Linked DNA regions of Homo sapiens: all the other regions are linked to region 1. Evidence: promoter capture Hi-C in 16 types of primary human blood cells and fetal thymus (Javierre and others, 2016). All regions are on one chromosome and are shown on one strand. The core of a region is centred on a gene start or on the middle of the fragment in contact, and the rest is flanking DNA. Distances in the headings are between cores, read along the strand shown.

Evidence for each region. Contacts are between HindIII fragments. The CHiCAGO score rates a contact against its expected background, and 5 or more counts as called.
Region 2: a fragment that was not itself captured here is called in contact with the fragment with the promoter of IL22RA1 in region 1 in 1 of 17 cell types (total B cells); the score reaches 6.2 in total B cells.
Region 3: a fragment that was not itself captured here is called in contact with the fragment with the promoter of IL22RA1 in region 1 in 2 of 17 cell types (M1 macrophages and endothelial precursors); the score reaches 5.3 in M1 macrophages.
Region 4: a fragment that was not itself captured here is called in contact with the fragment with the promoter of IL22RA1 in region 1 in 1 of 17 cell types (M0 macrophages); the score reaches 5.4 in M0 macrophages.

What each region holds. Positions count from the first base shown.
Region 1 is chr1:24,139,693-24,146,189 of GRCh38, forward strand. IL22RA1 (interleukin 22 receptor subunit alpha 1) reads right to left here and starts at 3,448. Exons shown (of 7, transcript NM_021258.4): 1 at 3,348-3,448. The coding sequence starts at 3,390. The HindIII fragment of the contact is 5,016 bases long and covers 2,915-6,497 here.
Region 2 is chr1:24,586,176-24,592,672 of GRCh38, forward strand. The region is part of intron 1 of NCMAP (non-compact myelin associated protein); the gene reads left to right. Among named protein-coding and RNA genes, the nearest start is that of NCMAP, 33 kb to the left of the region's middle. The HindIII fragment of the contact is 8,325 bases long and covers 1-6,497 here.
Region 3 is chr1:24,534,808-24,541,304 of GRCh38, forward strand. RCAN3 (RCAN family member 3) reads left to right here. Exons shown (of 5, transcript NM_013441.4): 5 at 286-6,233. The coding sequence ends at 470. NCMAP-DT (NCMAP divergent transcript) reads right to left here. Exons shown (of 3, transcript NR_109781.1): 3 at 4,467-5,069. Among named protein-coding and RNA genes, the nearest start is that of NCMAP-DT, 18 kb to the right of the region's middle. RefSeq lists enhancers at 490-549, 524-1,175, 1,176-1,825, 1,652-1,741, 6,252-6,497. The HindIII fragment of the contact is 1,001 bases long and covers 2,529-3,529 here.
Region 4 is chr1:24,412,419-24,418,915 of GRCh38, forward strand. It overlaps NIPAL3 (NIPA like domain containing 3), which reads left to right and starts at 3,384. Exons shown (of 12, transcript NM_020448.5): 1 at 3,384-3,486. It overlaps STPG1 (sperm tail PG-rich repeat containing 1), which reads right to left and starts at 1,364. Exons shown (of 9, transcript NM_001199013.2): 1 at 1,256-1,364. RefSeq lists enhancers at 860-979, 6,166-6,497. The HindIII fragment of the contact is 499 bases long and covers 2,724-3,222 here.

The sequences.
Region 1 (6,497 bases), core at 2,198-4,697:
CCGTCTAATTTATTTTTAAATTTTTTGTAGTGATGGGGTCTCATATATTGTCCAGGATGTTATGGCTGCACCATCTTAAATTCCCACCAGCATTGTTTGAGGGGTTCAGTTTCTCCACATCGCCATTGATGCTTGGTATTGTCTCTCATTCACTTTTTAACACAACCTGAAGTTGGTGTCCTCACCCTTATTTTAGAGATATGTAACTAAAGTGTGTAAGAAGTGACTTGCCCCAAGTTGATCAGATGAAGCAATGGTGGAGGAGGCGCTCTTGACTGAGCCCACACGTGGGCAGGGTGGCCTTGGGAAAGTTGTTTAAGCAACGAGAACTTCAATTGCCTCATCTCTAAAATGGATATAGTTTGATTTACCGAAAGACAAACAACAATGACAACAGCAGCCACTGGCATTTGTGAAGTGCACAGCCTCTTTCAGGCAAGTCCCTCCCTTCATTAAATCCTCACGACAACGTGCCCACTATCACTATCCCCATTTGATGAATGAGCTGAGGCTCAGAGAGAGCTGCCGCCCAGCATCACAGTTAGCATGTGAAGAACCTACAATATTCATCCCAGTGCTAGACTGGTTGTGGGGCGGATAGAGCGGGTTGGCGTCTGTGAATGTGTTTAGTGTCTAACAGGCCCCTATGTACATGTGTTGAGTCTGAAGGGAGGAGACCTGGGAAGGGAAGACATTCGCTCTGTAGGGAGGGGGCTATCTTGTTCACCCTTTTATATGAGGGTGGGGGGCTTCAGGGACCTGAGCACCTGATAAAGGGATGAATTTAGGGAGGAGGAGAAGAGAGAGGAGAAGAGAAGCTGGCCATTGAAGAGTCCACAGCCCTCTCTTCCAGGCTAGGTCTTTGTCCAGCCCACTTCTGCTTCTGTTAAGGGAAGGGCAGTGAGGGCCTGAGCCTCAAGGAAGGGGCTGGGGAGGGGCTGCAGCCTCTAAAGCAATCTGCACTGTAAACAAAGAGTCCTTAACTTATAAAACCCTTCCCTCAGGCCCCCAGGCTTGGGCTGTGGAGAGCAAGAGCCTGCGGGAAAATGGCGGCCCAAGCTGGCAGCTGGCTCGGAGCTCGGAGGCCCTGGCCGGCTGGCGTGGGAAATAAACAGGTGGGAAAATGTTAAGCAACCCCAGCTGGGTCAAGGCCTTGCGGCCTGGGTGTGTGTCTTGAATATGTCTGTGCCTCTCCTTCCCCAGACACGTCTACGACTGCCAGTGGGCCCAAGGTGTGAGGGAGCAGACAGTTATTGATTCCCCTACTCCAACTCTACACACAAGAGGGGTCCTCAGGCTTGGCGAGGACCGATGGGGACGGAAGAATGGTCCGACCCCGCTGCACATCCTCTGGCCAACCTCGAAGGCTGCCCTCCTCTCTGAATTTGGGTTCTGGCCCAGCAGCTGCAAAATGTCTTCAGGCTTCCTGGAGTCCCCAGAATGGGGCCTTAGGGATGGCGCGGGGAGGGGTCTACTGCCTCTACGCAAGGTGACGGCTGTGCCGTGGAGCCTTAGGATGTAGCTGACATCTTGTTTGGATGTGAGGCTGGGTGGAATTGGGGTCAGTTCTGGAGGGAGGGGTCCTGGATTCAGGGCTGAGTCTAAAGTTGAGGAAAGGAGTCCAGTCAAGGTCAGACCTGAACAGTGGCTTCTGGTTGGGTGGTGGGTCAGGGCAGAAGGGTGAGGGTGGGCTTTGAGAAGCCAGGCTCCATCAAGGCTTGGGGTAGAGTCTGCAGCGGGAACGGTTGCTGGTTGAGGTCAGTGTTCTGGGTGGGAAATAGAGGGCCCATCTGGGTTGCAAGGAGGCTGGTGGCTGAGGTGGGGGCATGTTGCCAAGGCAAAGGACCCTGGGCTACGTGGAGGTTGGCACCACTTTTCAGGAGGGAACTGCAGTTAGCTTCCTGAAGTGGGGTAAGTGAACCTAGGCCCACTCCTGTCTTTTAGGGATGTCAGGGTCTAACAAGATCTCCCCCTCTTCTCCCACCCTCCTCGCTCCTTTTCCTCCTCAAATCTATCATCCATTCCTCAGCCTGTGTTGCTTCGGCACTTCCCGGGTGAAAGTCTATATTGTGAAATCTGGGGAGACATGTGTTGTGTGGAGCCTGGCAGCCTGGCGGATTTATAAAAGGCAACTTGTTTTTTCACATTCATGTGGAAAAACAATGTTCTGTCAACCAGCTGGGAAGCTAAGGAAAAATACACAAACAAGAAACAATTCCACATGCTCTGGAGTCAGCCTAAGATTGGGGGGGTGAGGGCCCGGTGTGTGCAGCGCGAGGCAGCTGACCCTTGACAATCTCCTAAGGGCTATTTCTTGGGGTCCCCCATCTCAAAGGGCTGGGAGCCTCTAGGATTTCTAACCAGTATGGCTGAGGGTCTAAAGGGACGTGTCTTGGTGCCTCAAGGGGGTGCCTCACATCTTCCTGGAACGCCCAGCTTGATGCTGGGAAGCAGACTGGAGGGGGTCCCACAGAGCTGGAAGCCCTGGAGACGCAGGCAGCCCTGGCGGGACAGTGGCAGAGAAGGTGGGAAGCTCTGCCTTTTCGTGGGCCTCGTCCTGCACTTGAGCAAGGAGGGCCTGGCCGAGGCCATACCTGCTCGCCATCCTCAATCAGGACTATGCTTTGACTTCCTAAGGAAGTTCCCTGAATTTCATGCAATGCACCAGGAGAGCAGAGAGAGAGTCTAGGGTCTCATGTAACGTTCTCCATAATGATGAGCCCCCCACTCCGCTCACTTTATTGGCTTTGAACACTATGCCCTTAAGACCTGTTTCCAAATGAGTCCTGTGTCTTAAGACCTATTAATGTAGCAGACCTGGCCACTCTAGGAGAAAATGCTCTTTCAGATCTATGATAACAAAAGGGGCCAAAGAGGCCCTGCAGGGGCATGGAGGGAGGCAATAGTGAACTCAAGCTTCGTTTCCCCCGGTCCTTCCTCCTCCTCCCCTGTCAGGCCAGTGCCAAGTGAGAGGCAGAGGAAGGATGGTACAAACTGTGCCGACACCGTTTGAGGGACCGAAGGATGTCTGCCTCCTCCAGGCCAATTCTCCATTCACTGAGGTGCAGCGATCCAGCACCCCCAGTTCAGACAGCTGGCTATATCCCTCAAGACCCGAGGGTCCTTTGGGTCCCTGGAAGAACCCAGGGTCTGAGGCACCCTCTCATGCCCCCAGCAAACTAAGCTGGGCATTTGCTTCTCCGTGAACACCCGGCACCCTGCTCAGCCCTAGCAGGGGAGAAACTGAAACTGGCTATGCTCGGGCTGGGGAGGGTGCTGGGGAGATGACCCTGATCGTTGGCCCCTGGGATAAGGGAGGTCTGACCACAGGGTAGATGGGCACTCACCAGCCAGGGATCCCACAGTCAAGATGGTCAGCAGCGTCCTCATCGGGGCTGGCACAGAGCCCTCCCTTGGCCTCTACTCTGCCGTGCACAGAGAGAGGGCTGGGAGTCTTGGCGCCCTGGCAGCTGGCTCCACCCGGGCATGGGGCGGGGAGAAGGGGGTGGGTGGGACCTGTGCCGGTGGGGAGCAGGGGTACAAAGGTGTCCTGGCCCTGTGTGCTCTGGAATTCCAGGTTCTGGGCGGGATCTAAGGGAGTTCCCTTCCGACTTGCAGAAAACAGCAATAGTAACAGGCTGGCTTGTTTATCTGGTCCGGTGGCTGATTCATCCCAAGTGGTTTATCAAGGAGCTGAGGGGCAGAAAAGGCAAGAATAATCCACGATATGCAGCCTTATCAAAAAGCAATTTGGCACTGTGGATCAAAAGCCTACACCACATACATATCTTTTGCTTTAATAATTCTATTCCTAGGGGATTTACCCTGATGAAAATAACTGGACAACAGAGGGGGAAAAAAAAGGTCCCAGAATGTTTCTTGCAGCAAAGGAAAAGCTGTGACTCCTTTGCTTTTCTGGCAGGAGGAGATTGAGGGCACCCGATGCTCCTCCTTGATCCTCCATATCAAGGCAGGTCCCCACGCTTGGGGTGGGCTTGGGAACAGCTCTCCCCTAGAGAGGCCGTTGGGGGTGAGGAAGCCCAGCCGCTCTTACCTTGAGCCTTTGGGTCTAGGATCTGCAAAAGTTTAGAAAAAAAATGGAACTCAAACTTCAGTGATTCTTTCTGCTGTGCTAGAGATGGGGCTGAACTTCATGAATGGGGCTTTGGTTCGGGACGATGAAGATTCAGGCTGCTCTCCCATCATTTTGCCACGTAGGGCAGGATCTGCACATGAGCTTCGTGTGAATGAAGGGACAGGTGTTTAGGAAATGGTTTTCTCCTTCCTGCAGGGCCTGGAGAAGGTAGAAGGGCCCTGGGGCCTGGACTCTGGTCAGGGTGGACACGATTGGAGGGTCCTGCCCCTGGGGAGAGTTTGCCTGGCCCCAAGCACACAAAGGCAAGCGAAATTTTAGCAGGGATCCTGCCAACGGGTTGGGTGTAATGGGCTGTGATATGCTGAGATCGGTGTTTAAGTTTTTCTTTCCTGAATTGTAATTGTTATCAGCCCTGATTGCTAAAGTTTGTTTGACAAAACAGCCAAATCTAAGCTGTGCTTTGGAGGAATTAAGGTAGGGCCCATGCCAGTCATTTCCTGAAACTGCAGGAAACTACATTTTCTAGACTCCTTTATCAACTGCTTTCTGATAGGTTTAGCCCCTGGGGGAAGACTGGGGAGGCAGAGATCAGAGCATTTCTCCCCTCGTTTTCTGTTTGAGTGGCTTCCCCAGCAATGGCCATATCCCTCTGCAGTTCTGGCTCCCTCTGGACAGTCCATCAGCCAGGCAACCCCTTATGTCTTTCTTGTTCCTGTTTGGAGGCCAGCTCCTGGCTCTGGCAACACCTTCTCCCCTCATCTTTCCTTTCAGTTGGTGGGATGGCACAGCTTCCTGCTTTGGGGAAATCTCTGAACTGTCTGTCCTGATTAGTGTCCCAGCTCCTTCATCCTCTGGGTGACGAGCTCCTTTACATTAAAGTCCCTTGGTCTGAAAGACTGGAGAGGTTTCTGTGCTACTGAATGAACCATGATGGATAGAGGGTTTTTGATGACTTTGATGACAAGGCAGTGTGGGGAAGCTACAGCGAGAAAAACAGGTTACAAGGGACGCTTAGGGAGAAGAGCAGGCTTTGGTCCCAAGTGGCTGGCCGAGAGGACAAGACGCAGCCCCAACAGGTCTGTGGAACACGAAAGTGTTCCTTGGGGCCTCTCAGAAGCACTGGAAGAAGGAACTTGATGGAGGAAAAGGGCATCCTGTAGTTTCGAGGGCCTGTGGTTATGTAGGAATTAACGGGAAGGAAGACACCTGGATTGCTAAGGAATGTGGGAACACCCAGACTTCATTTCTAACAGTTTAAGAAAAAAATAGGTGGGGCGTGGTGGCTCATGCCTGTAATCTCGCACTTTGGGAGGCCAAGGTGGGCAGATCACCTGAGATCAGGAGTTCGAGACCAGCCTGGGCAGCATGGCGAAACCCTGTCTCTACTAAAAATACAAAAATTAGCCGGACATGGTGGCGGGCACCTGTAATCCCAGCTGCTCGGGAGGCTGAAGCAGGAGAATTGCTTGAGCCCAGGATGTGGAAGTTGCAGTGAACCGAGACCGCACCATTGCACTCCTGCCTGGGCGACAGAGCGAGACTCCGTCTCAAAAAAAAAAAAAAAAAAAAAAAAAAGGAGAAAAAAATGAAAACAACCTCCATGTCTGACAATAGAGGTTTGGTTAAAAGAATAATGGTATGTCCACCCAAAGCAAGACAAATGCAGCTTCCAAAATAATGCTGGAGAAAAATGTTTCGTGACCTGGTAAAGACTCATCATATTTTTTCAAGTGAAAAGAGGCATAACATAACCTATGTACAGTACCACCCTGGCTAAAACGCACACCTGCACACGCAGAGCAAACTGCGTGTCTTCATGGATATAGATGAAAACACTAGGGGCGTTATCTCTGGGTGGTAGTGGAATTGTAGGTGATTTTTCTTTTCTTCCCTTTGCTTATCTGCATTTCCTAAAGTTAATATAGGAAATACACTAATTTATATTAAGGGAAAGCAAGGTTACTAAACATAACAAATCGGCATTAAAGACAAGCCTTTGTTGGGGCTCTATCCTCCTCCTGGAATGCCATTTCCACTCCCTTAGCCAATTCCCTTTTCCTCGAATCTCACCAAGACAGTTTTCTTCTGCGATATGGCCCTTCTTGATAACTCCAGCCCATAACATCTCACTTTGAAAGTCCTTCCAGAGGCCAGGCACCGTGGCTCATGCCTGTAATCCCGGCATTTTGGAAGGCCAAGGAGGGAGTATCGCTTGAGTCCAGGAGTTTAAAGCCAGCCTGGGCAACATAGTGAGACACTGTCTCTATAAATAATAAAAAATTAGCCAGGTGTGGTGGCACATGCCTGTAGTCCCAGCTACTTGGGAGCCTGAGGCAGGGAATTGCTTGAGCCCAGGAGATCAAGGCTGCGGTGAGCCATGACTGCACCACAGCACTCAGCC
Region 2 (6,497 bases), core at 2,223-4,722, 450 kb after region 1:
AAAGATGAAAATCCAGGTCTAGGCAACCCCAAAGCCCTTGCTGGGTCATGAGCCCCGAGACAATGTGCTGTGTCACAGCACTGTCATTTAGCCACCCAGGAGGAGCGGAAATGTCTCTCCTGAGGGTCCAAATCAACACGGTCAAGGCTAACAGGGATCAATGCAAAGTCCTGATTGTCAGGAAGTCATCTGCACAAGTGCAGAATGGAGTCCTGGCGAATGGACAGCAGACCATCATGATATTGTCATCATGCGACTGTCACTGCCGCTCTCTTTCCACTTTGCAGTTTATAAAGTTCCTTCACGGCTGGGCACGGTGGCTCACGCCTGTAATCCCAGCACTTTGGGAGGCCGAGGAGGGCGGATCACAAGGTCAGGAGTTCAAGACCAGTCTGGCCAAGATGGTGAAACCCAGTCTCCACTAAAAATGCAAAAATTAGCTGGGCGTGGTGGCAGGTGCCTGTACTCCCAGCTATTCTGCGAGGCTGAGGCAGAAGAATCACTTGAACCCGGGAAACGGAGGTTGCAGTGAGCTGAGATCGTCCCACTGTACTCCAGCCTGGGTAACAGTGAGACTCCATCTCAAAAAAAAAAAAAAAAAAGCACCTTCACTTGGTGATCTTGGGGCTTTGATTGGCCATTAACGAGCATAAGGATAAATGTGAAAAAGAGTTGGGGGCCATCTTTCAGCAGGTGTGCTGTGGCTGCCTGTAAGGCCAGTGAGCTATTTCTTTTTATCAATCCAGGGTAATATCGATAGATATTGTGTACAGCACTGTGCTGAGTATAGGACATGCTTCATCTCATTTAATTCTCACAACAACCCTATGGAGTTGTGACTTTTATAATTCCTATTTCACAGACCAGAAAACCAAGAGGTGAAGAAAGTTGGCCAAGGTCACACAGCTAGTAAATAGCAGAATTCAGGCTCACATCTGATAAGTATCAAGAAAACTGTCATTCTGAACATGTCAGCCCCCCTCTGGAGTCATGTGTCCAGTTTTGGGGTCATTCTTAGGGGAGTCCTTGACACAGAGGAATGAGGAACCCATGAGGGACACCATCACCCGAAGGCTTGTTTGAAGGAGCTGAGAATATTTACCCCAGAGAAGAAAATCGTCAGAGGACATACAATTGGTGTTTTGAAGGGCAGAAAGCTCCTCTGCTTAAAAACAGATTGGCTTCGCAGGATGGTTACCAACCTACAGACAACTACTATCGCCACCTATTGGTGGGAGGTAACATTGATGTGGTGATACCAGCTACCCCAACTGCTCTGTTCCATCGGTGAAAGTTTGAATTGAACCTTTCATGCACAAAGGTCAAAGGTGCCTTCTTTTCTTTTCTTTTCTTTTTTTTACAGGGACTCACTCTGTCACCCAGGCTGGAGCGTGGTGGCATGATCTTGGCTCACTGCAGCCTCTGCCTCCCAGGCTCAAGCAATCCTCCAGCCTCAGCCTCCCAAGTAGCTAAGACTACAGGTGCACACCAATATGCCCGGCTAATTTTTGTATTTTTGTAGAGAAGAGGTTTCACCATGTTGTCCAGGCTGGTCTCGAACTCCTGGGCTCAAGCAATACACCCACCTCGGCCTCCCAAAATGCTGGGATTATAGGCATAAGCCACCACTCCCCACCAGAAAAGTGCTCTTAATCCTGACAGGTTTTCACTTAGAAGAGGTAGCAGATTTACCTTTGTGGAGAGATAATTTGCACCAATAAGTAAAAATTACAAGATGCCAATATGAAGGTCAATTTTCTTTTTCTTTTATTTTTTCTTTTATTTTTTTTTAGGAGTTTAGGAGCGGAGGTTTAATAGGCAAAAGAAAGAGAAAGAAACAGAAAGGAAAACAGCTCTGTCTTTAGTGAGAAAGATGGGACTTCTGAGAGGAAAAGACTCAATTTTCTTTTCCTTTTAATTTTTTGAGATGGTATCTTGCTCTGTCACCCAGGCTGAAGTGCAGTGGCTTGATCATGGCTCACTGCAGCCTCAAACTCCTGGGCTCAAGCGAATCTCCCACCTCAGCCTCCCGAGTAGCTATCATTACAGGTTCACATCACCACACCTGGCCTTAGGGTCAATTTTCTGACCATTAAAACATCCCAATATCTCCAGGAGCTGCTTGGGAGTAGTGAGCCACTTGTCTGTGGAGGAGATCAAGTCCTGCTGAATCTCCCATCCCTCAGGAGATTGGGAGAAATCAATCCCAATGTTTTGGTGGGTCGAGGGCTTTCGTGGGTTACCTGCTCTGAGTTACAGGTGGTCAATTGAGGAGAGGTCTGCCGGGGTTGGTAGTCTCTCTATTGTCTTATCCAGGGAGGAACTTGTAAGCCAGGCCAGAGGGAGAGGGGGTACCCCTAGGGCAGAGCTTCAGGGGAGATATTTTGGACAGGTGGGAGTCTGACAGCGTTTATCTTCCACATTCAGCTCTTAGACTTGGCCAAGAGCTAGTCAGAGAAGGATGGATCCGTGAATAAATGGTTATGACCTGCCATCACTTCCCAAACTCGCCTCCCACACAGGCCTTTGTAAACAACCCAAGAAAACAACAGTCCCTTGTAGATTCTGTAAATGTGATCGAGGCTCTGCTGAACACAGAGGCTCAGAGTGTGGCCAAGGGCAGGAGTAGTTGGGTAGGAGTCAGGGTCAGGGTCATAGGCCTGGGGCAAGGGCCCTCGTCTGTCTGCTGAACCCTGGCCTGTGTGGGTTTTTTCATCAAAGCCCCACATTGATTTGGGCCCTGGATGCTGGGCCACCTGTGCTTTGTGGATTTGCTGGGAGGGTTTTTGAAGAAGGGGCTGTGAAATCGGATAGACCCTGGTTTGAATCCTGGCATGGTTGGCATAGTTTTCATATTAGCCTTGTGAAGTTAAGGCAGTTTCTTCTCTGCTCCAAGCCTCAGATTCCTCATCTTCAGAATGGACAAAGTGCCTGTGCCCTCCTTACAGGACTGGTATGAAGATTAAGTGAGATCTCCAACATAAAGCACCGAGTGCGGTGCCGGACACATAGCGCATTATTATTATTATTAAATTAACCTCTGTCAGTGAAGACTGGCCTCCCTCTCCCTGTCCTCTTTGTGTTTTCTATGGTCATGGCCCCTGGTCTTAGGGACGTTTGATACTGAAGTGCTCCTGCTGGCCCTCACTTGGTTAACAACTGTTGCTGGGGCCCCACACATGAAAACACCCACATGCTTGGCCATGGCTGTGCTACCACCCTCCCTCCCACCTTCTCTGATGCAGCAGGGACAGAGATGCAATTGAGAGCCCTCAGTCCCGAGATGAGGCAAGATATGCTCTGAGATTCCTCACTGTTCTCTGAGAGAGAAGAGCTACTGGGCCCATCCAAAAGACAGTCTGCACCTGGAACTCGGCACCCAGGAGGTCACCCCTGCAGGACCTGTAGAGGAGCCTGTGTCCTGGTGGCCTTAGGTGGCTGCATTACTGGTCAGTGTGTGTATGTGTGTGCATGTGTGTGCCTCCATGTATTCCTGCAGTGACTGGTCATAGACCCCACCAGTGTGTGTCAGGGACAGGGTGGTGTGGTAGGAAGGATGCAGACGTTGCCACATGCAACACCCAGGTTCACAAACCAGCTCTGTAGCTTTGGGGCTACGTAAGTGTGGATAGTTAGCTTTATGTTTTTATTTTTATTTTTATTTTGAGACAGAGTCTTGTTCTGTCACCCAGGCTGGAGCGCAATGGTGAGATCTCAGCTCACTGCAACCTCTGCCTCCCGGGTTCAAGCAATTCTCCTGCCTCAGCCTCCCTCAAGAGTAGCTGGGATTACAGGCAACTGCCATCACACCTGGCTAATTTTCCATGTTGGCCAGGCTGGTGTCAAACTCCTGACTTCAAGTGATCCACCCGCCTTGGCCTCCCAAAGTGCTGGGATTACAGGTGTGAGCCACTGCACCCGGCTGAGAGTTGGCTTTATATTATCAAGTCTCAGGGTCTTCATTTGAGAGAAGGGGAAAGGAAAACTTATCTTACATGGCATTTTGCTAGTTGAATCAGGGCATGGATAGAAAATATCTGTCACAAGGTCTTGGCACACGGCAAACACTCAAATGGTGGCTTCTGTCATTTTTGTGCGTGTTGGTATCACGGTGAATATGTCCATGGGTTTGGGTTGGCCAATGATTGTTCCATGTCTCTCTCACTAAGCAAACCTTGATCCGCAGCCACCTATTTGTATCTCTTTTCTGTATTTAAAAGGAATTGTATGAAAGCCTCACTGGTGAGTCTTCTTAGCTTGATGTTGGTGAGGCTAGAAGGAGAAGGTTTAGGGAAATGCATGCTAATACCCTTCACGTACTGAGGCAGGGCCGGCATCTCCCCTTGAGAGTAGAGGTGGGCAGTGCTGGGTGGGAAAGGCTTTCATTCCAAATTCTCATACTTGTCTGTGCTTTTAAAATTTTATTATATTTATTTAGTTTTAGAGACAAGGTCTTGCTCTGTCACCCAAGCTGGAATGCAATGGTGCCATCATGGCTCACTGTAGTTTGTGCCATCAAACTCCTGGGCTCAAGTGATCCTCCTTCCTCAGCCTCCCAAGTAGTGGGGACTACAGGCACACACCACCACCAGGCTGGCTAATTTGTGCTTATTTTTATAGAAAGAATGTCTCCTAGTTTTCAGCTCCAGATTTCCCTGTCTCTAAGTTAGTTCAGCAAATATTTACTAATATTCACTATAATACTTAGAGCTGCCATTTAGTGAACACTGAAAAACACTTTCCATACCCCACTTCTCACTCTCAGCTCCCTTAGGGAAAGGGAGAGGCAGTTCGTTTTACAGATGAGCAAATGAAGCTGGGAGAAATTCAGTTACTCATTCCAGCCCTTGCACGGCGAAGGAGAGAAGACCCAGACACTTTATCTGAGGAAGGTAAAAGGATATGAGAAAGAACAAGAAATAGTCTCCATCCTCAAGGACCTGACAATGAAATGTAGCATTAATGGCAGACAAAGCAGTGGACACATGCCTTGGTGATGTTTCTTTGCAGGGAGCTGCTGTGGGAGGGTAGGGGACAGAATCTCTATTTCAGTATGAGTAGGAGTCTTCCTTGGGGGGCGACTGGGGACTGGGCTGTGTCTTTTTTTTGAGATGGACTCTCACTCTGTCACCCAGGCTGGAGTGCAGTGGCGCAATCTTGGCTCACTACAACCTCCACCTCCTGGAGGTTTAAGCGATTCTTCTGCCTCAGCCTCCCAAGTAGCTGGGACTATAGGCGTGCACCACCACAAGCGGCTAGTTTTTGTATTTTTAGTAGAGATGTGGTTTCACCATGTTGGCCAGGGTGGCCTCAAACTTCTGACCTCAAGTAATCTGCCCACCTCAGCCTCCCAAAGTGCTGGGATTACAGGCATGAGTCACCGTGCCTGGCCTGGGCCGTGTCTTGAAGGCTACGCTCTTTTTCTTGGGGAGCAATAGGGCATGGCTAGCCTGGGCCTGTTTCAGGTGTTGGGAGACAGGAAGCCCAGGCAGGGAGACAGAGTGGCAGGAGTGGGGAGGTCAGGCAGAGCCACACGGGGTTCCTGGTGGGAGCTTGAGTCTGGGAGTCCGGAGGGTCTGGTCTTTGGAAGGAGGGGTAGACAAGAGCTAGGGAGGGTTAGGCAGGGCCCCGGATTAAGGGAGCACAGAGAAGGGAGAGGCAGAGCCCACCTTATAGATTAACAGGGCCAGGCCACAGAGGCCATTCTGACCCTGTGAAGCCCCCGGGGCAGGCCACTGCCACCAGAGCCCTGAGCTGGAATGCAGATGGCCTGACCCTAGTGGGTGTGTTTCAAGGTGGGTGCTGACCCCTGCTTCCATCAGAGCTGGGAGAGCAGGAAAGCCGCAGCCCATAGATAAGGACTCTCTGGAGAGACCTTGGGCAGGGACTGGGGAGGCCAATGCCTGGGGCAGCCAGCCCAGAGGCAGCAAAGACCAAATATGATGGGGGAAGAGGGAGTGCCCTGCTGTCACAGCAGTTTGGCAGAGGGTGGTGTGAGTAGCTGAGACGCTGGAAACAGAGGGTAGAACCAGCGAGTGAAGGGCTTTCACTACTGGATATTGCAGTGTCGACAGGGGGAAATGATTGTTTTTTGAGCCCCAGAATCATATGATCAAACCTATAGTCTGTCGTGCTCACTAGAACATGAGCTTCCCAAGGCAAGGAGTTCGTCTAGTATTCCCTGTGTACTCCCAGCACTGAGCCCAGCATCAGTCACTTAGTAGGTGCCACGTTGATATTTAATAGATGTGTTTCATAGATATGTACAGCCACAATATATACAATGTTTATGGATATATATAATATATATGTTATGTAGTAAACATTTTAAAACTTTGATAAGAATACACACTAATGGTCAAGGGAGTGGTTACTTTGGGGAAGAGAGGAAATAGGATTGAGATAGAATACAAAAGGGATTTCAGCTATGTCTGATTTTTTTTCTTATAAAGAAGAACTGGGACCAGGCGCAGTGGCTCACACCTGTAATCCCAGCA
Region 3 (6,497 bases), core at 1,779-4,278, 390 kb after region 1:
AATTAATTAATTAAACAGATTAACTCATATTATTCATAAAACAATAATTAGCATTTGCATTTTAACTCCCAAGACTTCAGTACTGAAACAACATTTTATACAAGCCTTAAAGTATCAAATCTTTAACACCAAAACAAGATAAAATACTCTAACATAGTATTTAAAGATTTAAAGAACAAGAATCACCCATTAAAATAGGAGTAGAACAAAAAGTTGCAAGGGACAAAAGAGTTCTTTTTGCTGGAAGTGATGCTTTTGTCATGGTTATTTTGTTTGCCTCTGCAGGAGAGAAATATGAACTTCACGCGGGAACAGAGTCGACACCCAGCGTGGTGGTTCATGTCTGTGAAAGTGAAACTGAAGAGGAAGAAGAGACAAAAAACCCCAAACAGAAAATTGCCCAGACGAGGCGCCCCGACCCTCCGACCGCAGCGTTGAATGAGCCCCAGACCTTTGATTGCGCGCTGTGAGGCCCTTGGTTGTGGTGCGAGGCGGCTGCCCTGGTGGGCTCTGGCCATGGCGCTCTGTGCCTGCGGCCGATGCGTTGCTGCGAACAGCATAGGTGAGACTCTGCCGAGTGAGGTATAGGTCTTCTCACCACGCCTGTACTGCAGACACGGTCGTGTAGAGTAGCAGCTGATTTGACCTGTCCCAGATTTTAAGTGATATTCCAAAAGGGACTTTACATTAAAGGAGAAGCCCCCAAGATGTGGCCACCCTTAACCATTTTTAAATAGTAACAAATTAGGAAAACAGCTCCCCTCCCCTCCAGCCATGTAAGTCCTCCTGATTCTGTATCACATGAGACACCAAAAACTGGAAATGTAGTCACACCCAGTACAGTACCATTTTTATGAATTTAAAAATAGTCTTATAATTTTAATTGTTTGTGGGTATTTTTCTACTGGTATAAATAGCTTCTAATTAATAAATCGATCAAAGGTTGTTACTCAGTATACATGAAATTTTTTGCAGGAAAAGAAACCAGAAATACAGAATAATTCATAGAAATCATGGTTCTCAAGTATTTGTTCAATTAGCTTTGGGGAAGAAATGCCAAATCCACTTTGAGGATGAGTCTTACGACACAGATCCACCCACATGTTGCTCTTATCTGGAATTTGGGACAAAGCAATGCACAGGCCCTCATTCCTGATGTGGCGCCCTCCAGACATGGCTGCCCAGGAAGGACGGCCACTTTAGAAGTGGGACGTATCACCAGTAAGCTTGAATGATTAGGATCGCAGGTGGCTACTGCATTCTGCCGTTCGTGACCGTGTTCTAGCCTGTAGACCACCCAGCTACCTTCATTCACCAGTTTTTATCCTTCACCTTTTCCAGTATCTTGTTAACCACTAGTTCTTGAGTTTTTTGGCTATGATGTGTACGTTTATGTATGTCATTCATGGACTTTCAACTAGAAAAGGTAATGATAAGGTTTTCTGAAGACCATTTGTAAATTGTCCATTTAACCATTTTTCAGCTTGCTTTGAAACAAAAGTCACACCTACTATTTTTCTATGAATTAGGGAATGAGGGGGAGATCATTCAGTTTTACTTTTCTTTTTGTTGAAATTTTGTACCCGGATTGCAGTTGGCACTTTTCCTAAAACAGAATTGTTTCCCACTTAGGTGTCAGAATGTACCTTTGAACTTCCCTAAGAAGCAGCAGGATCTTTTTAACTCTCTCTGGTCTGTTTAGACTTTGAAGTCCCTTCTGTAGAAAAGTCTCATAACTGAGAAGGCTCTGTTTTGGGCCGGGTGGGTCTGCTGGCCTCCACTCACTGTGCTGTTTCCTTTGAGTGGCACACTTGGGAAGCTCCGGGGCATGTGAAGGAGCTGCAAACATGAGAACTAATGAACCAAGGCGGCTGCCACCAGGAAGGAACAGAACGCAGGCATTCAACCATGACGTCTGCACAGTGTTAGTAACATGTCATTGTGGTTTCGTTCTCACTGTGGTAAAATTTATTTCTGAGCACTTAAACTGTGTTGCATACCCCTAATTTTTTTTTTTTCTGTATCTTCCTTGCCCTCAAATACCCTGAGGTGATAAACTGTTCCAGTTGTAGCCAACTACCACTGCTAGGCCTCAATGTAAATTCAGTTGAAATTTGCAATTCTATCAGCAATTTAATGTATTGAATTCAGATCATCATTTGTCATTTTAACCGACAACCACCCAATAAATTTACTCTGCAGTTCTGAACTCAGCATTGTGCCCATTTTTTACTGCAAGATGGACCCTGTATGCCAGGAGACATGTATTATCAACAATTGGGAATTTTTTGAATTTCCTTTTAGGTAATATTGATTCACTGTAATTTTCTAAGTGATCAAAACCCATGAGATTTTGTTATTTGGCTTGGCTTTCATTCTCTGCCTGCCCATTAAAGAATATTCTATTCCTAACACATAAAACATTTTACAGTCAAGCAGTGCAAATTACAGTGCTTTTCTATTTTTTTTTTGAGAGCCTTGAATAAATTGAAGAAAACTTTAAACCAAAATTAGAGACGAGTCATTTAAGCTTTTCTGAATGGAAAGTATTAATATTTTCATTTTTCTAGTATAATATAATAAAATGAATTTTTTTAAAAAAGCTACTAAGTACCCATCAACTTTTTCATATTGTGAAATGAACCAGGATCTTAACAGATACTATCATCGCTGTCCTTTTTTGGCTGTTTAATATCTAGTTCATGTAACAAATTTACAAGAGATAAGTCTCATGGTTTTTTTTTTCTTTTAATAGGCTTTTCTGCAATTTTTTTGAAATTGAGTTATTACTTGGATTTAACCCTGATAGGACCAGGTGTGGTGGCTCACACCATAATCCCAGCACTTTGGGAGGCCAAGGTGGGTGGATCCACCTGAGGTCAGGAGTTCAAGACCAGCCTGACCAACATGGTGAAATCCTGTCTCTACTTAAAAAATACAAAATTAGCCTGGCATGGTGGCACATGCCTGTAATCCCAGCTACTTGGGAGGCTGAGGCAGGAGAATTTCCTGAACCGGGAGACGGAGGTTGCGGTGAGCCGAGATCACGCCATCGCACTCCAGCCTCGGCAACAAGAGCGAAACTCCGTCTCAAAAAAAAAAGATTTAACCCTGATTGATAGTATAGTAGCCATGTTTTCTTTAGAAATCATAACCTCTTCATGGGAATCAAACTATGTTGAAAATTGTGAGGAAAGATAATGGTGCTTTGTGTTGGGAAAAAAACATTTGTGAAGGATTAGAAAACCGTAACACTTAACAAGGATAGTCACAGAACCGACGCTGCATTGGCTCTTAGGTTCTAGATTTTTGTAGCACACTCACCTGATGAAACCAAAGACAAATCCATGTAAAAAGTGTTCCAGTGAGCATCTCTGAGGTTTAAGGTACTAAGAGGCAGAAGTGGATAGCAACAGTTCCATTGCCTTCGAGAACTAAAACTCAGCTGGAAAGCAAATTAGTCTTTTCACATTCTGCTTCTTCAAAATGTTGTACTCAAAAACATACCAGTAATTAAGAGCCAAAGCAAAGCTTCAAGGAACTTTTAAGTTCAACATAAAGGTTTAAATAAAATATTTTTTATTTTTTATTTTTATTTATTTATTTATTTATTTTGAGACAGAGTCTCACTCTGTCGCCCAGGCTGGAGCGCAGCCGCGTGATCTCGGCTCACTGCAAGCTCCGCCTCCCGGGTTCACGCCATTCTCCTGCCTCAGCCTCCCAAGTAGCTGGGACTACAGGCGCCCGCTCCCACGCCCGGCTAATTTTTTTTTTTTTTTTTTTTATAAGTAGAGACGGGGTTTCACCACGTTAGCCAGGATGGTCTCGATCTCCTGACCTAGTGATCCGCCTGCCTTGGCCTCCCAAAGTGCTGGGATTAACCAGGCGTGAGCCACTGCGCCCGGCCTTAAATAAAATATTGTAGTCATTAATGGTGTGTTTGAATTGAAGAGATACCAGGAGATAGAGGTGAAGTGCAGTACTTTTATTCTTTAAGAATATAGTCTTTAGCCAGGTGCAGTGGTGTGTGCCTGTAGTCTCAGCTATTTGAGAGGCTGAGGTGAGAGGATCACTTGAGTTCAGGAGTTCAAGACCAGCCTGGGCAACATAGCAAGTCCCTGGCTCAAAAAAAAAAAAGTTTCCCATTCATATTAACTCCATCTTTTAAAAATGTCATGATTACAAAGTGAAAAGATTTGGCTTTCTTAGAGGCTCAATCACAGAGGTGAAAGTGACCTTGGAAATCATATACTCTATCCCCATGTTACACAGATTAGAAAAACTGAGGTTATGGCACTGACTTAGGCACCCCCAGCAAGGCAACCCAGGGACTACAACTGGCAATCCCAACTCCTGGGCTAGGGCTTTTTCTACCTTTTTTTGCATTGGCCTCTTAAAGAGGCAATGAATACTAATTCCTGGCATCAGAAAAAAAAAAAGGCATGAGGTGGGAGGATTCTTTTTTCCCTGATGGGAAACAGTGAATAAGAAAAATCTCATCATTCGATGGAAGAGGTGACTTAATAATTTTATTAATGAATTTGATGTCCCATGTTTTGTAGTTTTGTTATCATTGAACCATTGGGGCTGGAATCTGCCTAAATAATTTTATCTTGGTAGCCAGCAATTATGTTGGTATTTTATGTGGGCCTTCCCAGATTTTCATATTAATGAAATGACTAATAGTCGTACTTAAGAGGTAACTCTACTAAAGCAGAATGAGATCTAATATGTTGTGGAAATAAAAGAGTTTGCAGTGGAATGATACTCTCACTCCGTGCTTGTAAAATTGAGTTCTATTCAAGACGGAACTGCTATGACTGGCCTATTCAAGGCTTCATATTTTTATACAGACTATTTCACAGACCATAGATTTATTTTAAAAGGGAAAATCTCACACATAATTAAGCAGTGGAAAATGTGCTCAATGCTATGGTGCGTCAGGCCCTCTGTCTACCAGGTTTCTCCCCTTTCTGCAGAGCTGTGGACCCTGTACGTACCAAACAGGTGAACTTGGTCCATCTTTCCTTCTTCCTTTTTTTGCACATTTGCATTTATATCTTCCTGTACTAAAAGAAACAAATTATTTATAATTGGGGTGACAATATAAAGGAACAAAAGATGGGGCAATAGTTGCTTCCTAGCTGGAGCTGTAAGTCCATGTTACAGAAACTCACTATTTAAAAAGTTTTAAAAGATTTATGAACCTTGTCCTACAATTCGCTGAATACTTATTTGTCTTTTAAACTCCCCTCGGTGTATGGATCATCTTCGTCAGAATGCCGTTGTTTCATTGTGAATCAGGGGAAAATGTTAATCATTTGGAGACTGTTTTCTTATTACCAAATGTACAATCCATAAGACAACTGAAAGCAACAACTGCTGGGTTCACTGACAAAGATTATAAAAATCATCACGTTCAAAGTAGAGTTTTTAGCCAAGGTCAAGAACTAACCTGGGGCTGAGTCAGCGTCTCTACCCACTTAAATAACAGCGTAAAGATCTTTCACTAAATTCGTTATGTGGTCTGTCTGGATGTAAACCTATATATTTCCTTTTGAAACAGAATCATATCCTGCAGACTCTTGGCACTCCTGCATAGCTTTGACCGAATGTTCACTCTCATCGTAATGGAAGATTTCTATCTATGCAGATAATACATGTTTTTAAATACTGTTTTCTGTTTAGTCCTCAATCTTCCTAACTCAAATTGGGGACTGAGGAGAGAGAAAGGTGGTTACCCCTGTTACCGTGCCATATTCTTCTTGCTGCTTTTCAACCCCACGTGATTGTTGATTGACGGTTCTGCTATAATGTGCGTGCCCTTCAAGTTTCAGAAAACTTTCCCAATCATTTCACTTCAATCTTAATTGAACCCAAGAGTCAAAGTTATTATTTTCTCCGAACGTGTTTGTGATCTTCTGTTATATTTTGGGGCATGTTACCTTTATGGTATATAAGCTGTAGTGCATACTCTTTGTATTGCAAAAAACTGGTCAGTAATTTATGTACATGTATTCCACATTTTAGTGTGCTTGAAGTGACAATCCATAGTTTGTAGTAGTTTGTTATTTGTCAACTTTACCCTGTGTTTTAAGGACATCTAAACATTCCTTGTCCTATCAAGATGACAAAAGCAGAATGTAATTTTTTTTTGGAAGCTTCGTGATTACCTGTAACAAGTTCTGTTTTTAAAACGAATACAAATAAAGTTAGTAACTATTTTTAAATCAGTCCATTGAGTTGAGTTTTTTTGTGTGTAGTATTTTCAATACGCATCACTTACATTTAGCTAATAAGACAGAGAAGTGCAATATTGTGTTTGTTCCTTTCACAAGAGTCCTGTTGAACATTAATGCCGTGCAGTGCCAGAGTTCAAGGTGGTGAGTCACTGCTCACTCTGTAAATAACCACTGCACTTTCAGCTCTTCCCCAAGAAACCTTTTACCCTGGTTTCCCCTTTGGTTAAAAATGATTTATTCCGGGTAAAGACTTAC
Region 4 (6,497 bases), core at 1,723-4,222, 270 kb after region 1:
TCTCTAGCCCCTTACTCTGCTTTATCTTTTTCAAAGCACTTTTCACTACCCAACATTATATTGTATGTTTATTACTTTATTTGTTTATGATCTTCCCCAGTAGAAAGTTCAACTCTGAATCTTCAGTCTATTTCCTCACATACAGTATTTGCTCAATTGGCCAGGCATGGTGGCCCACACCCGTAATCCCAGCACTTTGAGAGGCTGAGGGGGAAGGATGGCTTGAGACAGAAGTTCAAGACTACCCTGGGCAACATAGCAAGGCCCTGTCTCTACAAAAATAATAATAATAGTATTGAGAATTTTTAAAATTAGTATTTTCTTCATAAATATTGGTGGAATGAATGAATGAATGAATACTAGAGGTAGACACCTTTTAGCAATTGTGTGTACAGCTGTGCTCAGAATATATTTCCAGCGGGAGTTAGATTCTACAAGGACAGCTCACATGATCACAACTATAGGCACAGTTTCATTTTATCATCTCTTGTGTTTTTAAAAAACGTTATATATGCTAAGTATTACAGTTTACATTATACATGTTACTGTACAGGGTATATAAACATGTACTAAACTATGTATACTGTTACTTTAGATAGAATTTTTTTGGATGTCCTGAGTAGTTTCGTCTGTAGGCGATTTTTATCTACTCAGTTATAAGCATCTTGGAAGCAGCTTACATTTTTTCAAAGCACTCTCAGGTAAATAACCCATTCGATAGTCTTCATAGGCTGAGAAAGTGTATCAGGGAGCTGGAAGGAAATTTAGCGGCGGGCTAGTGACCACCAGGTTCCAATCTCACCCTTTTATTTTACAGATGGGTAAATCGAGGCCCAGAGCAGGGAAGTCGTTTGCTGGGGGACACCCCCTGAGCTGGGGTGAACCTATGAGTAGAGATCAGGTCTTTGGCGTCCACCCACTGCCAGGCACTGAAGCCTCCCAACTTTTGCGCACTCGCGGAGCCTGAGCCAGAAGGGTCGGACGCCCACGCCCCTGGCAGGAGCTCGGTGGAGCAGGCAAGCCCCAGTTGTCACCACTTTTCGGGTGGAAACACCGAGGACACGCCCCGACGCAGGGGCAACTCCCATGGTGGCTTCTTCCCGCCCTCGGGGCTCCACCTAGCTCAGCCCTGGAATTCCGCAAGCACCCGGAGGCCGGGGGGTCTCCGCGGGCGTCCCATGCGGAGGACATGGTGCGCCGTGTCCTCTTCCCCACGACCTCAGGGACCGGTCCCCCCGCCGGAACTGCTTCCTACCTGGTCCGGTCCCGGCAGCTGAATCTGGCCAGCCCAACCTCCCGGTCGCTATGGCACCCACAGGCCTAACATTCGCGAGTCCACCTTCCGCCGTCCGCGAGGTAACTCCAGCCAATGGCATCCTCTGTTTCTTTAACGTGAAAAGTTGTTGACCAATCATTAGAGGCGTTTCAAAGTCCGCAGAGAAGCCGGCCGAATTTTAGGGCTTAGGTTAATTACATCAGGGCCTGTAGCGGGGTGGGGAACTAATAAGAGGTTTATCTAGGCCATGCTTCAAAAATCTTGTGATAAACCAAAAGCCTCAGAATTTTGCTCACTCAAAAATCCTGCTTCAAGGAATATACCTAAAAGAATTAACATTCATCCAAGCCCTGTTTCTTTTTTTTTTGAGACAGAGTCTCGCTTTGTCGAGCAGGCTGTAGTGCAGTGGCGCAATCTTGGCTCACTGCAACCTCCGCCCTCCAGGTTCAAGCGATGCTCCTGCTTCAGCCTCCTGAGTAGCTGGGATTACCGGCGCTCGCCACCACGCCAGGCTATTCTTTTTGTATTTTTAGTAGAGACAGGGTTTCACCACGTTGGCCAGGCTGGTCTCGAACTCCTGACCTCAGGTGATCCACCCGCCTCGGCCTCCCAAAGTGTTGGGATTACAGGCGTGAGCCACCACGCCCGGCCCCAAGCCCTGTTTCTAACAGAAGAAAAAAAAAAAAATTGACATGGGCGACTATACAAGGGCAGCCACTTAGTATTCCAGGAGCCCCTCTTCACACGCTTCAGGGCAGGGCGGTCTCAGCGACCTTGTCACTCCCCTGCTTAAAGTCCTCCAATGGCTCGCCTTTAAATTTAGGGTGAAATCCAAGCTTTTTTTTTTTTTTTTTTTTTTTTGACAGGGTCTTGCTCTGTCGCCCAGCTGGAGTGCAGTGGCGCGATCTCGACTCGCTGCAACCTCCGCCTCCCGAGTTCAAGCGATCCTCCCGCCTCAGCCTCCTGAGTAGCTGGGACCACGGGCGCTCGCCACCACGCCCGGCTAATTTTTAAATTTTTTTGTAGAGATGGGGTCCCACTATATTGTCCAGGCTGGTCTCAAACTCCTGGGCTTAAGTGATCCTCCTGGCCTCCCAAAGTCCTGAGATTACAGGTGTGAGCCACCGCGCCGGCCCCCAAATATGTTATTTATAAACTGTCCCTGGCCCGTCCCTCAGATCGCAGGCCCAACCACGCCCCCAGAAAAATCTCTCACCAGCCCTGCTGGCCTTCGGGCAGTTTCTACAATGCACCAACTCGTTCCTCTCCCATGTTCCCAAGGAGCTTTCTCTGCCCCACGATCTGAGACTAGAACTGCCTCTTTCTCATTGTTGATGTCTAGGCCCAAATGACATTTCTTCATACGTAAAACGGGCTTCAAGTCTCACTCATGGCTGTGACGATCTGAAAGCAAATGCGTGTATATGACAACGTGTGAGCGATGAGAAGCTTGTCATCTGTAAAACTCCATGCGCATGTTAATTATCATGGCCGTGATAATTATGTACATTATAGAAACATTAACCAAGCGCTGGGCTCGTTTCAGGACCTTCAGTATTGCTGGGAGGCTTGGTATCCGACAGGTGTTCCAGGAGGGCAGGAAAGGAGAGATATGTTTGGTCCCAAGTCTCGCGAGGGCTCTGGGGAGCGCTGGGTCTTCAAGGACGTTTTGGATTTGAATACTTGGTGAGAGCGTCGGGTAGGGGAACAGCAGGAGCAAAGCCCGGAAGGTGGCTATGAGGATAAGAAGGGAGGACACCTGGCAGGCTGCTAAAACCAGGCCCACCTGCCGGGCAGGTGGAGGCGAGCAACCACCTAAGCTCTCTGGGACAGCGGGAGAGGGGGCAGGGGAGTCGCCGCACCATTCTTCCTGTGGCCGCTAGGGGGTCCCCGCTCCAGGTGAGCGCCAAGCTCTAGCCCCAGGTCGCTCCCTTATGCTTCAAGCAAGCTTTGCAGCGCAGCCAATTGCCAGGGGCTGTCCCGCCTACTCCCCGTCCTCGCAGCCACTTGCCTGCGCGAAATGCCTGCCAACTTCTGACTGGCAGGCAGTCTGGCAAATCAAATCGCGACCTTTGAAAGCAAAACACTGCAGCATCTTGGCAGCTCTGAATTGGGAAGGGATGAAGGAGGCTGTGCCTCCGGGTTGCACGAAGAGTCCGAGTCATTTCTCAGAAGGTTTTGATAGGTGGGCCTTAGAGGAGACGCCGCCGGTGAGTAGTGATTAACACCGGGAGGAAGGGGAATTGAATTTAACCTTCGTTTTTTTCTGGAAAAAGCGAAGTCACCTAACGTCCCCTAGTGTACATACCCTTCCTTCTTACTGTCACCAGCCTCGCCAACCTGGGTCCCGTTGCCTTGGAATGTTCTTTCCAGTTTTGCATCGAGGCCAAGAGGAGCGGGGGCATGGGCTACCTTACTAAAGGTGATGCCAGGCTCTACCAAACCAGGAAGTGACATGGAGTTAACTTTGCCAGAATTTCTCCTCTTCGTGCCGAGCGGCTCGGGCTTCCTGGCGGCAGCAGATGGTGGAGTTAGCAGGTGGGATGAGGGGAGGCGTTCTTGGTCTAAGCCCGCTTCTGGAACAGAGGTGCTGTCTCCTCGAGTTGTAAGTTTCCAGCTCAGTGGGACGGGACGGAAGAATGTAACCTTCTCGTGAGCCAAAGCCGAGGAACGGGAAGCTTGGCAGGGAACTGGCGCTCACCTCCAGAAGCCAGATCGTCGGGTGGTGGGAAAGAGCGTGTTTTATTGATTTGTTCAGAAAGAGGCAAATTCGAATACAGACGCTATGAGCCACGGCTGTCTCATTTGTAAAACGTGCTCTGTGGGATTGGTGAAATCCGTCATCGAGATAAACGGGGTGGGAATGGAAGCAGAGCACCTAGTGAATTCTCATTCCTTCCTTGGGTCAGTGACCACGTGCTCTAATTGTGGGGTGGTTGACAACGCAGAGGTGACTGCTTGCCTCTCGGGCATATGTAGGTCCTGAAGAAATGCTTCGAAATCAGGAAAAGAGAGTCACCAGGTGAAAAGTATGTGTCTTATAAGGGAGTACAGCTTGCAAAGGGTTCCTCCAGGCTTTCAGTCCGGACTCCCACCCAGCTGAGGGAGAGCCTTCAATCTTTGCAGGCGATGCTTCAGAGGCCTGCGAGTTCCTGAGGCAGAGAGGGAAGCTGCTTTTTAAAAGAAAAATTAAACCACAGCAATGCCAACCACCACAAACAAAAGCAAAACCAGAAAAGCACTTGGGCAAACTACTCTGAAGGATGTTAGGAGGCCTGGGTTCCCACCACTCCCTTGATTGACATGTCGCTAAGGTCTGTTGGCTTTCTCTGACCTCCTGTGGGTGGGGCTGAGTATATCTGCTTGTTGAAGCTCTGGAGTTGTGGTTGATTAGGCCTTAGAAAGGCATTCTTGACTGCGAAGGGGCCACAGTGCACCCAGTGCTTAACCAGCCTGCATTTAGTCAGTCGGTTGGTATGTATACAAGTCACTGTCAGGCTCTGGGCTAGATCTCATTTAGTCAGTTGGTTGGTATGTATAGAAGTCACTGTCAGGCTCTGGGCTAGATCTCAGCTGGGAGCAACTGAACAGGGTATTCCGCAAACACCTCACTGGAGTTTGCGCTCCTCAACTCCATGACTGCTTCATGGTTGAATGCTTCCCGGGGCCTCTCAGAGGTAGAAAGAACCCTGAGCCACTCTTAAGGCTCTTATGATTATTACAAATGCTAAAACATTTTTACAGAAATGTAACACAATAATGCTTTTCACATGTACGTGAAAGTATAGTGAACAATTATGCTTTCCACAAGATTGCAAACACATATTCATAGGGTTTTACAGGCAGGGAAGTCTAGCTATGGGATGTGAATTACCTGATAAAGTTACCCGGTGAATGCTTACATCTCATGTCTGTATATTGGATATATAACCTCGTCTGCAGGTAGTAGCAATAATTTCATCCTGAGGCCCTCTGACAAAGTGAAACCAAGCCAAATGGTTTCTGTAGCTGTCCCTATGCTAAACCTGCATTTGTTGTATCCCAGGACTGGACATGGTGTTCCCCTTATCACATATGTATGTGCTGTCCACACCATGAACCAGAATTCCTGGGCCTAGGGCCGGATAGCAGAAGGAACTGGAAGCTACAGGATACACAGGAGGCAGCTCTCTGAAGCCTCAGGGAGTGGCAGAAATTGTTTAGCTCACAGTGAGCCCTCAGTAAATATTTGTTGGATGAATGCATGAGAGAGAAAGGAATGGACAAAATAAATAATTAAACAGGAGAGAATAAAATTAATCTTAACAGCAGCTCACATTCATGGACCATTTGCTATGCCTGCATTTTACATGTATGATTTCATCAAATTCTCATGACTGCCATGTGGAGTGGGAACATTATTATCTATATTTCACAGCTGGAGAAACTGGCTGAAAAGTTAAATGACCTGGCAAAGGTAAAACAGGTAGCACATGGCACATCAAAAGCAATTTAAAACATTTTTCTATTAAAATAAACATAGACTATGCAGTAGAATACATTTCTAAAAAATGTATAAAAAGTCCTCAAAGAAAACCCTAACACTTTTAAGCAGGGTTTTGGCCATGCCTCCTAGGACACTAGAAGTATACTTTCTCTTCTCTGTTTGGTAGCAAATTTTGAGAAGTGGCACACACCTGTAATCCTAGCACTTTGGGAGGCTGAGGCAAGTGGACTGCTTGAGCCTAAGAGTTCAAGACCAGCCTGATAACATGGCGAAACCCTGTCTCTACAAAAAAATTAGCCAGGCCTTGTGGCACGCGTCTGAGGTCCCAGCTACTTGGGAGGCTGAGGGAGGATTGCTTGAGCCCAGCTTGAGGCCATGTTTGTGCCACTGCACTCCAGCTTGGATGACAGAGTGAGATTCTGTCTCCAAAAAAAGGAAAAGTTCGGGAAGCACTGAAAATATAAGTCCGATGAAATTAGTAGGGATTCTCATCATTGCTGGGTTTATTTGAGGCCACATTATTACCCCCACTTTACAGAGGAGGCAACTGAATCTCTGAGAGGCAGAGTTACCTGGTCACACAGGTTTTCCACCTCCGAGACCAGTGTCACCTCACCTGTGTCAGGCCAATCCTCGGTAGCAGGCCAGTTCTTCTGTTTTCCATGGATGTAGCTTTTCTTCTGATTCTTTTCTTCCTAAGCTGAAACTTAAATAGTTCCCTTTTCGTGGTAGTGG